Regions from separate parts of the Homo sapiens genome. Here region 2 is linked to region 1. Evidence: promoter capture Hi-C in 16 types of primary human blood cells and fetal thymus (Javierre and others, 2016). All regions are on one chromosome and are shown on one strand. Each heading gives the region's core, a stretch centred on a gene start or on the middle of the fragment in contact. The rest is flanking DNA. Distances are from core to core; before and after follow the strand shown. Region 1 holds the start of BCAR1 (BCAR1 scaffold protein, Cas family member). Region 2 overlaps CFDP1 (craniofacial development protein 1).

Region 1 (6,797 bases), core at 3,763-6,262:
TTTGGAAAGTTGTGCTGCCTCTTCCAGTCCTGTTTCTGACAGGCCTGAAGTGGAGGCGTAGGGCTGGATTTAGTGGGATGCAGGCCAGGACTTGGAGTGCAGGGAGGCCCCACCCCCCCCCATCCGTGCTGTGTCCCTTACCTGGCAGCTCTGCCCACACACCTTGGATACTGCCCCTGCCCCCGGGTCTCTGGGGACTGGCCTTGGGCATGCCAAAGGGGATGACCACTGGAGGGATTTGGCTTCAGGCTATAGGGCCCGCCCACCTTCCCACAGTCAGAGCCACTACTGGTAATGACAAACACTGCCCCGCAGTGGAGGATGGGAAGCCCTTTATGGTAACAGCTCCAGCTTGAGTCCTGAGTGCATGCTCTGCGGTCTGGGGTCACCTGGGGTGCTTACCAGTAGGCACACGCCTGGGTTATGAGGTGGAAGGTGCGAGCTCTGCTGGCCATGGGAGCTGCGTGGGGCATTGCCCCTCTCTCTGCCTCCAGGTAGCCGTCGTTCCGTCCTGGTCCCAGGGCAGCAGTGAGGAATGACTGGTGTTGGGGTGTGGGCTGTCCGTTCTGTGTGTGACAGTAGGTTCACCTCCGTGCTATCCACAAAGGTTCCGTGCCCTCGCCTGGGTTTTGTTTTTGTTTTTTTGAGACGTAGTTTCGCTCTCTCGCCCAGGCTGGAGTGCAATGGCACCATCTTGGCTCACTGCAACCTCCGCCTCCCGGGTTCAAGTGATTCTCCAGCCTCAGCCTCCTGAGTAGCTGGGATTACAGGCATGTGCCACCACGCCCGGCTAATTTTGTATTTTTAGTAGAGACGGGGTTTCACCATGTTGGTCAGGCTGGTCTTGAACTCTTGACCTCAGATGATCTGCCCGCCTTGGCCTCCCAAAGTGCTGGGATTACAGGCGTGAGCCACTGTGCCCAGCTGTTTTTTGTTTTTTTTTTTGAGATGGAGCCTTGCTCTATCGCCCAGGCTGGAGTACAGTGGCGTGATCTCAGCTCACTGCTTCACCTCCTGGTTCAAGCAATTATCCTGCCTCAGCCTCCTGAGTAGCTGGGATTACAGGTGCCCGCCACCACGGCCAGCTAATTTTTGTATTTTTAGTAGAGACGGAGTTTCGCCATGTTGGACAGGCTAGTCTCGACCTCCTAAAGTGCTGAGATTACAGGCGTGAGCCACCTTGCCCAGCCTTGCCTTGGTTTTGAGCTTGCCACTGTGAGTGTCCAGCCTAGGGGGATGGTGTCAGCTCTCATTGGCCCTCCAGAGATACCGTTTCTTCCTGTTCCTGGGGCTGGCAGTGCTCACCTCCGGCCTCAGGAAATCCTCTCCTGCTGCCGCTCCCAGAGCTGGCCATCAACCGAGTCCACCCTCCCTGCTGCTGGGAGGCCGAGGCTTCAGGAGGGGAGGGGGCTGTGTGCCTTTACACTGTGCAAACTGGTTTTAGCCTGCTCTTTTCACTTTAGTTTGTTGTAAGCATTTTCTTGCATTATTTCAGTCTTTGGAAGAGGCCATCTAATAGCTGCAAGCTATTCTACTGAGGCGCTGTGGTTTGTCTCACCGGTCCCCTAGAATTAGCATTGATAGGTGAGCCTGTTTTGCTCCATGCTTTGCTGTCATAAATGCTGCAGTGGACATTGGTGAGCATTGAGCAAGAAAAGTTCTGTGCAGTGGGTCTGTCCTGAAGGCAGATCTCAGAAAGCCCAAAGAGCAGGAACCCTATCCCAGGCTTATCTTTCCACTTGGGTCCAGTATAACCCCCTCCACTCCAGACACTTAGTGTCCTGGTGTGCTGGGTCCACCTGTTTTCTGTACAAACAGCTATTCCAGGCCCTGAGGGGTTGGAGACATCCCTTCCAGCCTGTGAGCTCATCTTCAACCTGGCTGGAGGTGCCAGGCCACTCCTGGGATGACACAACTGTCTGGGAGGGCCCTGTGCTGGTGCCCCGGCCACATATCTGCAGCTGTCTCCCTTGGTCTGGCAACAACCTCTCCCAGCTCCTCCTTATTCAGGGCGTCTCTCCTTGCTGCCAGTCCCACTGTGTGTATACGCATGCGTGTGTGCTGTGTGTATGCAAGTGTGTGCCTCTGCACTTAGGCGTGACTTAACCACCCCCATCCTCCAGACTGGGGCAGCCTCAGATTTCTTCACCCAGGCCAGCCTATCCCATGAGGGCCACCTCTGAGGTCCCACCCAGTCAACAAATGTTTACTGCACCCCTTCTCACCAATGGGGCTAAACTTAGTGGGGTGGGGGTGGTGCTGGCCCCAGTGCTGAGCTCAGTTTTACTGGGGAGGAAGGTGCTTAGGTCTCAGTTGCCTGTCCTTTTGCAGTCTGAGTGTGACAGGGGTGTTTGGCTTTCTGAGCCTGGAGTGCTGCTGTCCCTGTCCCTAGATTCCCTTCCTGCTGCAGGGTGGGCTGAGGTCTAGCAGCCCCATTTCTTCCCTGGCCCTGTCCCTTCTGTGCCCCGAAATGTGTGGGATGGGGCAGTGGTTGGTAAACTGGGTCTCGGTCTCTTCATGTGAAAAATGGGGCTAGGCTGGGTGCAGTGGCTCACGCCTATAATCCCAGCACTTTGGGAGGCTGAGGTGGGTGAATCACTTGAGGTCAGGAGTTCGAGACCAGCCTGACCAATATGGTGAAACCCCATCTCAAAAAAAAAAAAAATTGGGGCTAACGGTGAGCCTGTTTTGCAGGATTGCTGTGTGCACAAAATAAATGCATGGGCATAGGGCCCCTGGCACTGGCTGGGCGCAGAGGCTGTGCTGGGTATGTGGGGCTGCATCCCTGTCCTTGACAGCGGAGGTCCGGGAGGCTGGACTGGGGGTGGGGTGAGGTTCTGCCCCCATATACCCCGGCCAGAGCCTGGCCAGTGGGTGCTCCTCCCCCACCCCCCAGCTACATCCCCATCAACACTGTGGGGCTTAACTTCTGGGGCCTTGTTTCCAAAGCGGAAATGCCATTCTGGGAGGCACAGGCTTTTGGGGGAGGGAATTTAAGTGGAAAAGGAGCAAATTTTTGAAATGCCTGTGTCGGAGCCTGTTTCCCTTGCTGCCTCCTGCTCACACCAGCAGCCCCACCCCCAGTGCTGTTCTAATGCAGCTACTGGGGGAGGAGGGTCTCATCCCCCAAGGTTCCAGCCATCCACCTCCTCTCTGCACCGCCCTCCTTGGCCAACTAGGATGGAGCAGGGGCCAGCTCCCTTGAGGGCCAGGCCTTTTGTGTCCTTGCCCGTCCCTGCAGAGACTGCTGCCTGGGGCCCTGCCAGCAGGGCACTGCCTGCCCATGAGGCCTGGTCTCCCCTCCCCACAGAAGTGGAGGCCCAGGGATGACCTCAGGCTCCTGAGGGTCCCGCTGGTTCAGACCTGCTCTCTGGGAAGCTGGTGTGCCAGCCAGGCTGAGGAGTGGGTGGCTGGACAGGGTCAGGGTGCAGGAGGGGCCCGGCACAGCTCTTGGGAACAAGCAGGAGGAGATGCTCCAGGCAGCTTCCCTGAAGGCTGGCTCCTCTTCTGAGGCGAGGCGGGCTGTGTCGGGGAGGCACAGGGTGTTGGCTAGCTGTTCTGTTCCTCCTGAGGACTCTGGGTCATGCTCTGTCTCATCCCACTGCTCCTTCCTCACCCGCTGTGCTGTGAGTTCTGGCCAATGCTTCCCAAGCCAAATATTGAAGAAATGCAGACGTCCAGTTTTTTGGGAGGGGTGGGACACAGGAGTCTGTTTTTTAACTAGCTCCCCAGAGCACCTGAGCAGCAAATCATGGGCTGTCCTAGCCCCTTTTCAGATGAGAAAGGAGCCCAGAGAGGGGAGAGGGCCTGCCAAGGTGGCACATCTGGCCAGGCGCTGCGTAGGCTGAGCCCTGGGGGTCAGACAGAGGGGCAGCTGCAGGCCCACCTGGGCTTGTGTCTTCCATAGGCCATGCTTGAGAATTCTCTGCTGCGTGAAGCCGGGTCTACCCCGCTGCTTCCCTGCCACCAGGGCTGCCTCGTGGCATCCCATTGCTCAGCCAGTGGCCCAGGATTGTTGACTGAGGGTCCTGTCTGGTCTGGACCAGGCTCGGTCCTATCATCTCCCTGCAGATTGTGCCTCCCTGGCCTGGCCCAGGGGCTCTGGCACCCTGGTTCTGCTGCATGGGGTGACAGTCACTGACCTGCAACCGAGCAAGGGGCAACTCAGGAGAGCCAAGGTTGTCTCCACTCGGTTTCCCCCGAGTGATTCTTCCTTCTATCTCCCTCATTCCCCCAGTGCCGCTCTCCTACCCCATGTCGCTGAAGCAGATGAGTTGGAGCAGGACTCAGGAGGGTACTAGGCCCAGGTTTTAGGCTGAACCTAGGAATGAGTAATGAGAGGAGGCAGATCAGCTGGAGGACCAGCCCGAGTCCCCAGATGTCGGCACAATGCAGGGGAAGGTAGGTGCTGCCCGTGAAAAGCGCTGGGTCGAGAGCTCGCCAGCCTCCCTGCTTGAGGCTTCATTTCCTGGGGTCCTTACACGGTGGGACCGTCTACAGTCGGAGCTGTGGTGGTGATGATTCGTCTCCTACAGGCTGGGGCACGCCCCCTCCCCTTTCCCTCTAGATTCAGATTTGAGTCCCACGGCCCATGGACACGCGATGAATGCCCTGGGGTTGGTTAGCGGGAAAGACAAGTCGACTTGAGGCCATGTCTCGGCTCTGGAGGAAGAAGGCAAACCGGGCAGCCTTCCCAGAAGTGGAGGAGTTTGCGTAGGCCTTCGGTGCGTTCTCGCCTGGGTGGAAGGCGGGGACGTGCATTTGTTGGAGAGCGGTGTCCTGCGCCCTAGGCTGGAAGCCTGGCCTCGGGCAGGGGCCTGGAGCCTCGGGGTTGGAGGTGGGGGGCGGGGCGGGGGGCGGCCCCTACTGGGCGGGCTTCTGTCTGCGCGCCCGCGCCCCCGACAGGCGGCTTATTTGCATGGAGAGCGGCGGCGGCCAATGGGCGCGCGCGGCCGGGCATGCTGGGATCGGGCTGGGCCGGCTGGGCCGTGGCGGCAGGCGGAGAGCGGCTGGACCGGCTCTGGGTGGCCGAGGCGGCAGCTGCGCGGCGGCACCGGGGCGGCTGCGGCGCGCTCGGAGCCCCGAGGGCACGCGGCCCGGGCAGCTCGGTGTGCGCCCCCGCGAGAGCCGGGGCCCCAGGCCCGCCGGACACCATGAACCACCTGGTGAGGGCGCCAGGTGGGGCCGGGCCGCGTACGGGCTTGGAGGCGGCAGCGGGCTGGAAGGGGTTAAGCGAGCGGCATTTCCTGCCGGACCTGCGGGGCCTGGGAACCGCCGGCCGGGGTCCGCGGCCCTGGGATCTCCTTCTGCCCTGGCCGGGAAGCCGGGAGGCAGGAACCGCGGGGGCTCCGGAGCCTGTGCGCCTCGGGTGCGTTGGCGGGGCCGGGCGCGGGGGCCGCCAGCCGGTAGGAGGGTTCCTGTGTCGGGAAAGTGGCTGGCGGGGCCCGCGCTCCCCGGCCGACGGCCGCCTGCTGTGTCACCTTGGGCCTCTGCGCCCTGCCTCCGAGCCTCAGTTTCCTCGGCTGCGAGGAGGGGCCGTTGAGCCTCTGGCGGGTGGTCCGGCTGGTGTGGCGTGGGGACTGCCCACCGGCTCCCGGAGAGGGAGGAGCTCCGGGGGACCGAGGCCGGGCGGGCAAGTGCGTGGCGCCAGCGGGGAAGGCTGCGCAGCCGGAGCACCCGGCTCCAGTTAATGATTCACTCCGGCCGCCGGCGCGGGGTTCCGGGAGCGGAGCGGGAGTGGGGGCGGGCGCGCCGCGGGCTTTGCAGCCCCGCACGCCGAGCGCCGGTGGAAGCCGGGTCCTGGCCACAGGAGTCCTAGCCGCACGCGAGTGTCGCGGGAGGGGGCCAGGGCCGGGTTCTGCAGTGTGGACATGAAGGCTTTGGAGTCCATGGTTGGGGGACCCGCAAGAGCTAGAGCAGGGTCGGAGCTCCCTCTCGAGGGTCCGAGAGGCTGATCGCTGGACCGAGGTGAGGGAGTTGGGAAAGCGGAGATTTGCCTAGGGGTGCGGGGTGAGGGGCTTACGGCCTGGAAGATGTTGGGGTTTCGAGTTCCAGATCGGGGACAGCAGCTCCTTTTCTACCACAAGGCTCCCGTTCCCTCCTGAGAGTCCCTGGTTTCCTTTCCCACACCCCTCCCGGGGCCCGCCGCAGCTTTGGTCACCTTCTCAGAATGACCATGGGTTGATCTCTTCTTTGCTAGTGAGATGTTTCCCATCGCCCTGGGCCGGGACACGCCCCCTCTTGTGCCCATTCCTTTCCCTCGGTGGAGAGTTGGGTGGTGGGGGCTGGCCGGCCTGTGAGAGCAGGTGTCGGGGTGCCTGGAGAATCGGGGCCCAGGTACGGGGGTGGCGGGGCTGTGGGGAAAAGAGCTTTGGGGAGGAGCTGCTGACACTTCCTCCTGGCACTGCTTGCCCGGGAGCTGGGTGGAGGCAGGGCAGGGCAGGGCAGTCCCAGGTTCTGCCAGGAAAGTCACCTTGGGCTGGGGCAGGAGGCTTGGAGCTTCTGGCCGTTACTGTTTGTCTGAGCAGGAGGGTGAGCACTGTGTACTGGTACCATGGCCCCAGGTCTAGGCGAGGGATGGAAATAAGGACAGTGCCACTAGGGCCTCCTGTCTGTACAGGAGGGGCCCTGAGACAGCTCCTCAAACCCCTTTCCCATTATACGGATGGTGCAGATGGGGACACTGAGGTACAGAGAGACAGTCAGTTGTCCTCAGAATTGGATCCAGAACCTCGTCTTCTGGCATGGCCCCCCAGTGCAGCACCACATGTGGCCTCCGAATTCCCAGTCTGGGATTG
Region 2 (7,337 bases), core at 2,439-4,938, 120 kb before region 1:
GGCATAATCACAGCTCACTGCAGCCTTGAACTCTGTGGCTCAAGAGATCTTCCCACCTCAGCCTCTCGAGTAGCTGGGACTACAGGTGCACACCACTATGTCTGGCTAATTTTTAATTTTTTTGTAGAGATGGGGTCTCCCCATGTTGCAGGCTGGTCTCAAACTCCTAGGCTCAAGCAGTCCTCCTGCTGCAGCCTCCCAAACTGCAAGGATTATAGGCATGAGCCACAACGCTCAGTCTTAATGTTATAAGAAACTGCCAAACAGTTCCTCAAGATGGTTGTACCATTTTATATTTTGCCAGTGATGTATGAGGGTTCTACTTGGTCCATACGTATCCTTGTTCACATGTGATGTTGTCAGTCTTTTTTTTTTTTTTTGAGATGGAGTCTCGCTCTGTCGCCCAGGCTGGAGCACAGTGGCATGATCTCAGCTCACTGCAACCTCCACCTCTGGGGTTTAAACGATTCTCCTGTCTCAGCCTTGGAGTAGCTGGGACTACAGGTGGATGCCACCACACCTGGCTAATTTTTGTATTTTTTGTGGAGATGGGGTTTCATCATATTAGTCAGAGTGGTCTTGAACTCCTGACCTGAGGTGATCCACCCGCCTCGGCCTCCCAAAGTGCTGGGATTACAGGCATGAGCCACCGCGCCCAGCCTTGTCAGTCTTTTTTATTTGGGTAAGTGTGAAATGGTATCTCCTCTGATTTTAGTTTGCATTGCTCTGAAAACTAATAATAATGACATCTTTTCATGTGTAAAGTGACTCTTCCAATCTTACCCATTTTTATTGGGTTGTTTTATTCTGTTATTGGTTTATAGGAGTTCTTCTTATATTCTGAATATAGATAGTTTGTCAGATGTAAATGCTAAGAATTTTTCTTAGTGTTTGTCTTGCTTATTCATTTTTTTGGTGGTGTGTTTAGATGAGCAGAGTTTTTAATTTTGATATTCAGTTCGTCTTTTACAGTTAGTGCTTTTTGTGTCCTAAGAAATCTGCCTATAAGGTTGAGAAGATTTTGCCTTTTTTTAATGGTCCTGGCTTTTATGTTTAGGTTTTTTTTGTACCTTGAATTAATTTTCATATATGGACACATTTAGGTTTTTTTTTTAGAAACATAGAAGCAATATATGCGTGTTCTTCTAAAAATTCAAGCAACACAGAGATATAGAAGACAAAATGAAAGTTAATAATTTGGTGGGGTTTTTGTAAGGTCTCCACTGTTCAGTAGAGTAGTCACTAGCTATATGTGGCTGTTGAACACTTGAAATGCCACCAGTCTGAATTGAGATGTGCTATAGGTATAAATACACACTAAATTTTGAAGAATTAGTAAGAAAAAATAAGCAGTCAATTTTTATTTCAGTTCCATTGTTGAAACAGTAACATTTCTGACATATTGGGTTAAATGTATTAAAAACAATTTCAGTTGTTTCTTTTTATATTTAATAGGGCTAAAATATGTTTTTAAACTAGGTATGTGGTTCCCATTTTATTTCTGTGTGTTTTTTTTTTAAGAGATGGGGTCTCACTATGTTGCCCAGGCTGGTCTCAAACTCCGGGGATCAACTGATCCTCCCTTCTCAGCCTCCCAAAGTGCTGGGACTACAGGTGTGAGCCACTATGCCCCGCCCATTTTATTTCTATTTGACAGCTCTGTCCTAGACCTTTCCCTAAGCATTTAGTAATCTATGTATATGAATGTGTATCTGTATGAGATACTTTTCTGTTCACATATAAGTGTTTTTTATTTATATAAATGGAGTAATCTAAGCCTATTTTCCTGAAGTTTGTATTTTTTGCTTGAAAATACAAAAATACATATACTAACATATTTCATCTTATTGCCTATACATTTATCTGATTCTTGTTAATGGCTAGTATAGTGTTCTACTTTGAATATTCTATAATTTATTTTATTTTATTTTATTTTGAGACAGTCTCGGGAGTGCAGTGGCGCGATCTCGGTTCATTGCAACCTCCACCTCCAGGGTTCAAGTGATTCTCATGTCTCAGCCTCCCAAGTAGCTGGGACTATAGGCACCCACCACCACGCCTGGCTGATGTTTGTATTTTTAGTAGAGATGGGATTTCGTCATGTTGGCCAGGCTTGTCTTGAACTCCTTACCTCAGGTGATCCACCTGGTTTGGCCTCCCAAAGTGCTGGGATTACAGGTGTGAGCCACCGTGCCTGGCCAGTTCTATAATTTTCAAAACTAACTCCCTATACAGACATTTAGGTTTTTTATCATTTTCTTTCTGAGAAACAGTATGTTTGTAAAGATTGCCTCATGTTTAGAAAGATGATACAATTCCTACCAGAATTTTTTTCTCAAATGGAAATGCTTATTACAATTAGGATTAGTAAATTGTGTAGAGGAAGTCAAGGCTTCCCTTGTAAAGGACAAAATGGCTTCGTATCTAGAGCAGAATACAGTCTTGTAGCCAGGAGTTTCAGACCAGCCAGGGCAACATAGGGAGACCCCGTTCATACCAAAATAAATAAATAAAAATAAAAAGAATACAGTCTTTAGGGAAGCAAACCCTTTGAATACAGTGTGTATCTCTAGCTGAAATTCAAACTGTGCCTCTCTTTTGTTCATGATTAGTTACACAGTGAGTTTAGGTAGAATGGGGGGTGGGCAGGGGTCACAGAGAAAAAGAATCCAGCGTTGTGTATCTTATCTTAGCGACATTTATATTACCCACCATGTGAAAGTTCTTTTGAGAAGCTTCCCTCTCCTCCAGTTATTTTCTTTTTTAGTACAAAACAACCTTTTTAATATTTATAAAACTTGGTATAAGGCCAGTCATTTTGTGGGAAGAAAGTCCAATACGATAATGAATCTATGAGCATTAGCAAGAATGAATGAGATGAGATTATTTAAATATACTTTGGCTAATTTAACATCTGTGTGTGTAAGTGTTGAAATGGGTCACCATGTTATTTCCAAAAACGTGGCTTGGGAATTATGCCTTCTTTTCACTTAGCACATGTAACTGGATAAACCGAGACTTAAGTAGCTTTTAGGGGAAGGAGGGAAAGTAGACAGATGGGAGTAGCTGCTCCAGCATAGGTGTGTCAAGCAAATTGTCACCCTTTTATCTCTGGGCCAGAGTTGTTTCAGTTCCTGCATCAGGAATCAAGTGTATGATCTGCTTCCATGCCGGGGAACTCCTTTAAAACAACAAGATGTTGAATTTTTTTCTTTTACAGTTGATAAAGTTAATTTCCCTTTTCAGTTAGCAGTTTGCCTTTAGAATTTTGGAACTAAAATATTCCTTGCTAAGGCTTTTATTTTCTCCTCCCTCACATGTACTCTGGGTTATTTAGGATTTAAATTAGACATTTAAAGGGTATGTATTTGTGTGTGCGTGCATTTTCTTTTAACTGTGAGTGACAGCAATACCAGGAGAAAAGTTAATACTCCATCTTGCCAAAAGATGATGGTTTTATTTTTCTCTCATGAAACAAAACCTGGGAGGAAGAGTTGAATGAACTTTGCAAACAGTTGAGCAAGTAGATTGGCTTCCAGACTAAACCCTGGATTGAGGTACAGCTAGAATAACTCACTTAGGTTTTCTGTTTATTCTTTCAGGAAGAAGAAATTTGATGCCTAGAGATTGATCTGCTTTTTGTTTTTAAGTTCTAGTTCTGGTTCGATTTCAGAACCAGTCTGCAGGCAACTCTGCATTGTCTCCTTAGAGAACTGGACAATTCCACTGATCTGGATCCTTTGGCAGCAAGCTGACATTTTATTGAGGCTGGTCAGCACTCCTGGCCAGAGTCTTGAAATTGTGGGTGTGTTTTTGCTGCCCATTGTTGAGTTATTCATGAACAGATATGAAAACCATATATATCCGAATTTTGTTACCACTAGATGTGATGAGTTTTTCTTTTTGATTATTTGGGGATTCTTAGTTCTCTGTCAAACTCTTCAGATTAAAACCCTTCTTATAGCTATTACTTTGGACTTCTTATATTTTACAGTATAGGGAAGAGAAAGCTGTCATGGTTATTGCTGGCTCCTTTTTTAGAAATAGGTAGAGTATTATATATGCTTTTGACTTGAACAGGATTGCCTGGTGCAAATAATAGTTTTACTTAATTCTTTTAGCTGTAAAATAGGGATCATAATTCCTACTTCATAGAGCTGTTTTGAGAATGAAATGAGATAAGGTGTCACTACAGTTCCTGGCACAGAAGGACTCAATGAAAATTAGTAGTTTTTCCCTTTTCCCTATTTTAAATAACAAGGTTGATCTTCACTTACTAGTTCGTATTAGGACAAGGAAATTATAAAATCATCAAGGAAACAGTAGACTTAACAAATAAATGAAACTTAAAACTATTAAAAACGTATATAGATTTAATCAACATTTTCATCCTCTTCCTACTAAATGAAACCTTTGAGTTGGAGGAGAATACACCAAGACTGAAATTCACTTACTTTTCTTTCCTCTGATTATTCTAATATGTAACAAAACACTTGAGAGGTTCTCAGAAAAGACCAAGAGATTCTTCCTATGAATGTTAGGCTATAGTAATATTTTTATGTACTAAAATATATAAACCTGTTTTTAGAAAAGAGCCTGAATTAGCAGAACAGGAATTTCCCAACTACAAAGGAAGCTTAACCAAAACGCTTAAGGTTAGTTTTTAAAAAACATTTGAATATATAAGAACTTTGTTCAGTTTTTTTAACCTCGCCCCCCATTCAGGTTTCTTAATCTGCTTTGACATCACTATTTTAATCTCCACAGTTTTATTTACTTAAGACATTAGCCAGTGTTTAATCATCTTTAGAGAGAGATATATAATTATGAAATTGTATCATATTATGTTGACATTACTTAAAATGTTTTAACTTGTATTTGTCCTAGGGGACTTTTGGCAGTGTCTAGAGACATTTCTGGTTGTATAACCTGGGCAAGGCAGGGGATGCTACTGGCATTTAGAGGGTAAAAAGTTTGAGATGCTGCTAAACATCCTGCGGTACAAAGGACAGCTCGAAACAAAGAATTGGCTTATTCAAAATGTTAGTAGTTCCCAAGTTAAGAAACCCTGCGGAACACTACAGTGAAGTCCACATGAACATGTGATAGTTTGTTTTTTACAATTCTGGAATTGGCTTTTTTCTGCACTTGGCACAGTATATGCTCATATAGGGCATATTTGATAAATGAATAAACTAACAAAGTGAGATAGATCCCAACCTGAATTTTGTAGTAAGCAAGTCCTTTTGCAAGTGAGTTGATTTCTGCAAATGGATCTTTAAGTTTTTTTTAATTCTTTTTTTAAATTTTTGAGACAGTCTTGCTCTGTCACCCAGGCTGGAGTGCAGTGGTATGATCTTGGCTCATTGCAGCCTCTGCCTGCTGGGTTCAAGCGATTCTTGTGCCTCAGCTTCCCAAGTAGCTGGGATTACAGGCACATGCCACCACACCAGCTAATTTTTGTATGTTTAGTAGAGACGGGGTTTTGCCATGTTGGCCAGAATGGTCTGGAACTCCTGACCTCAGGTGATCCGCCCTCCTCAGCCTCCTAAAGTGCTGGGATTACAGGCGTCAGCTACTGCACCCTGCCACACATTATTATTATTATTATTTTATTATACTTTAAGTTCTAGGGTACATGTGCACAACGTGCAGGTTTGTTACATATGTATACATGTGCCATGTTGGTGTGCTGCACCCATCAACTCATCATTTACATTAGGTATATCTCCTAATGCTATTCCTCCCTCCACATTATTTTTAAAATAGAAAAAATTTGGCCGAGCGTGGTGGCTCACGTTGGTAATCCCAGCACTTTGGGAGGCCAAGGTCAGTGGATCACCTGAGGTCAGGAGTTCGAGACCAGCCTGGCCAACATGGCGAAACCCCATCTCTACTAAAAATACAAAAATTAGCTGGGTGTGGTGGCAGGCACCTGTAATCCCAGTTACTTGGGAGGCCAAGGCAGGAGAATCACTTGAACCTGGGAGGCAGAGGTTGCAGTGAGCCAAGATTACACCATTGCACTCCAGCCTGGGCAACAAGAGCGAAACTCTGCCTCAAAAAAAAAAAAGTAATAAATAATAGAAAAAATTCAAGGCCAGGCATGGTGGCTCACGCCTGTAATCCCAACACTTTGAGAGCCGAGGTGGGCAGATCACTTGAGGTAAGGAGTTTGAGACCAGCCTGGACGACATGGTGAAACCCTGTCTCTACTAAAAATAATAATAATAATAATACAAAAATTAGCTGAGCTTGGTGGTGCAGGCCTGTAGTTCCAGCCACTGGGGAGGCTGTGGCATGAGAATCGCTTGAACGTGAACCTGGGAGGCGGAGGTTTTAGTGAGCCAAGATCGCTTCACTGCACTCCAGCCTGGGTGACACAGTGAGACTCTGTCTCATAAACAAATAAATACAGTAAGTAAGTAAGTAAAGTGTTGGTCAAACAAAAGGAGGCCAGTTTGGAAACTCTGGTTCCTTAACCTGCTGTTGAGACTCTGAGCACTAGAGAATAATCTGGTCTTACTTAGTTTTCTTTGTTTCTGGTAGACAGATTTGCAAATTGCTTTTCCAGTTTCATCAGAAGAAACAAGTGTGGACACATACGTCTCTGTCAATACACTGTTTAGATTATTGGAGAATAAATAGGCAACCTACTGCGAAGCCATGTGTCTAAATGTATATAATAGTTAAAGCAGAAGCCTGCATCTAGCTAGAATTCTGTATAGCAGTGTGCGGGTTTTTTGGCTTTTTGTTTTTTTGTGGGTTGTTTTGTTTTTGTTTTTTTTGAAGCGAACTTTTGCTATATTGCTAAGGCTAGTCTTGAACTCCTGGGCTCAAGCAATACTGCCTTGACCTCCTAAAGTGCTTGGATTACAGGCATGAGCTACTGCGCCTGGCCTGCAATATGTATTTTAAGCTACTTTTTTTATTATTCCCTAAATAAAAATAATTTCTCCTATGCCTGACGAAATCAGTCTTATTTACGTTCAAAAACTATACTGAGGAGAGGAGGACTGTATTTACTTTGGACTTTTGAGCAACTCATTTACACATATTACACTTACATTTCTGATGTGCCTATTTTTAACCAAACCTTGAATTTGATACATTAGCTGATTGGCCACATAAATGTTTTGGTCTTCATAAAGCAAGACATGTTTGTGCAAGTATTGGAATATTTTATTCCATTTTATCCTTACTTTCTTTAAGTTATTGAAAAATGTAAAAAGGAAAGTACTGATACCCACAATGAAAATGTGTAAGTATCAGACTCCTTAAAAAAAAACAAACAAACAACTTTTTATTATGAAAAATTGCAGCAGCCTGGGCACATG

What was found. Contacts are between HindIII fragments. The CHiCAGO score rates a contact against its expected background, and 5 or more counts as called.
Region 2: a contact is called between a fragment that was not itself captured here and the fragment with the promoter of BCAR1 in region 1, in 15 of 17 cell types (endothelial precursors, M2 macrophages, M1 macrophages and 12 more). The highest score is 18.3, in endothelial precursors.

What each region holds. Positions count from the first base shown.
Region 1 is chr16:75,249,839-75,256,635 of GRCh38, reverse strand. BCAR1 (BCAR1 scaffold protein, Cas family member) reads left to right here and starts at 5,012. Exons shown (of 7, transcript NM_014567.5): 1 at 5,012-5,165. The coding sequence starts at 5,154. LOC105371344 (a long non-coding RNA gene) reads right to left here and starts at 838. Exons shown (of 3, transcript XR_933740.3): 1 at 403-838. RefSeq lists enhancers at 1-477, 191-485, 478-1,017, 1,018-1,558, 4,260-4,800 and 3 more and silencers at 191-485, 4,800-4,909, 4,970-5,129. The HindIII fragment of the contact is 27,287 bases long and covers 1-6,797 here.
Region 2 is chr16:75,368,834-75,376,170 of GRCh38, reverse strand. The region is part of intron 5 of CFDP1 (craniofacial development protein 1); the gene reads left to right. Among named protein-coding and RNA genes, the nearest start is that of CFDP1, 61 kb to the left of the region's middle. The HindIII fragment of the contact is 1,901 bases long and covers 2,738-4,638 here.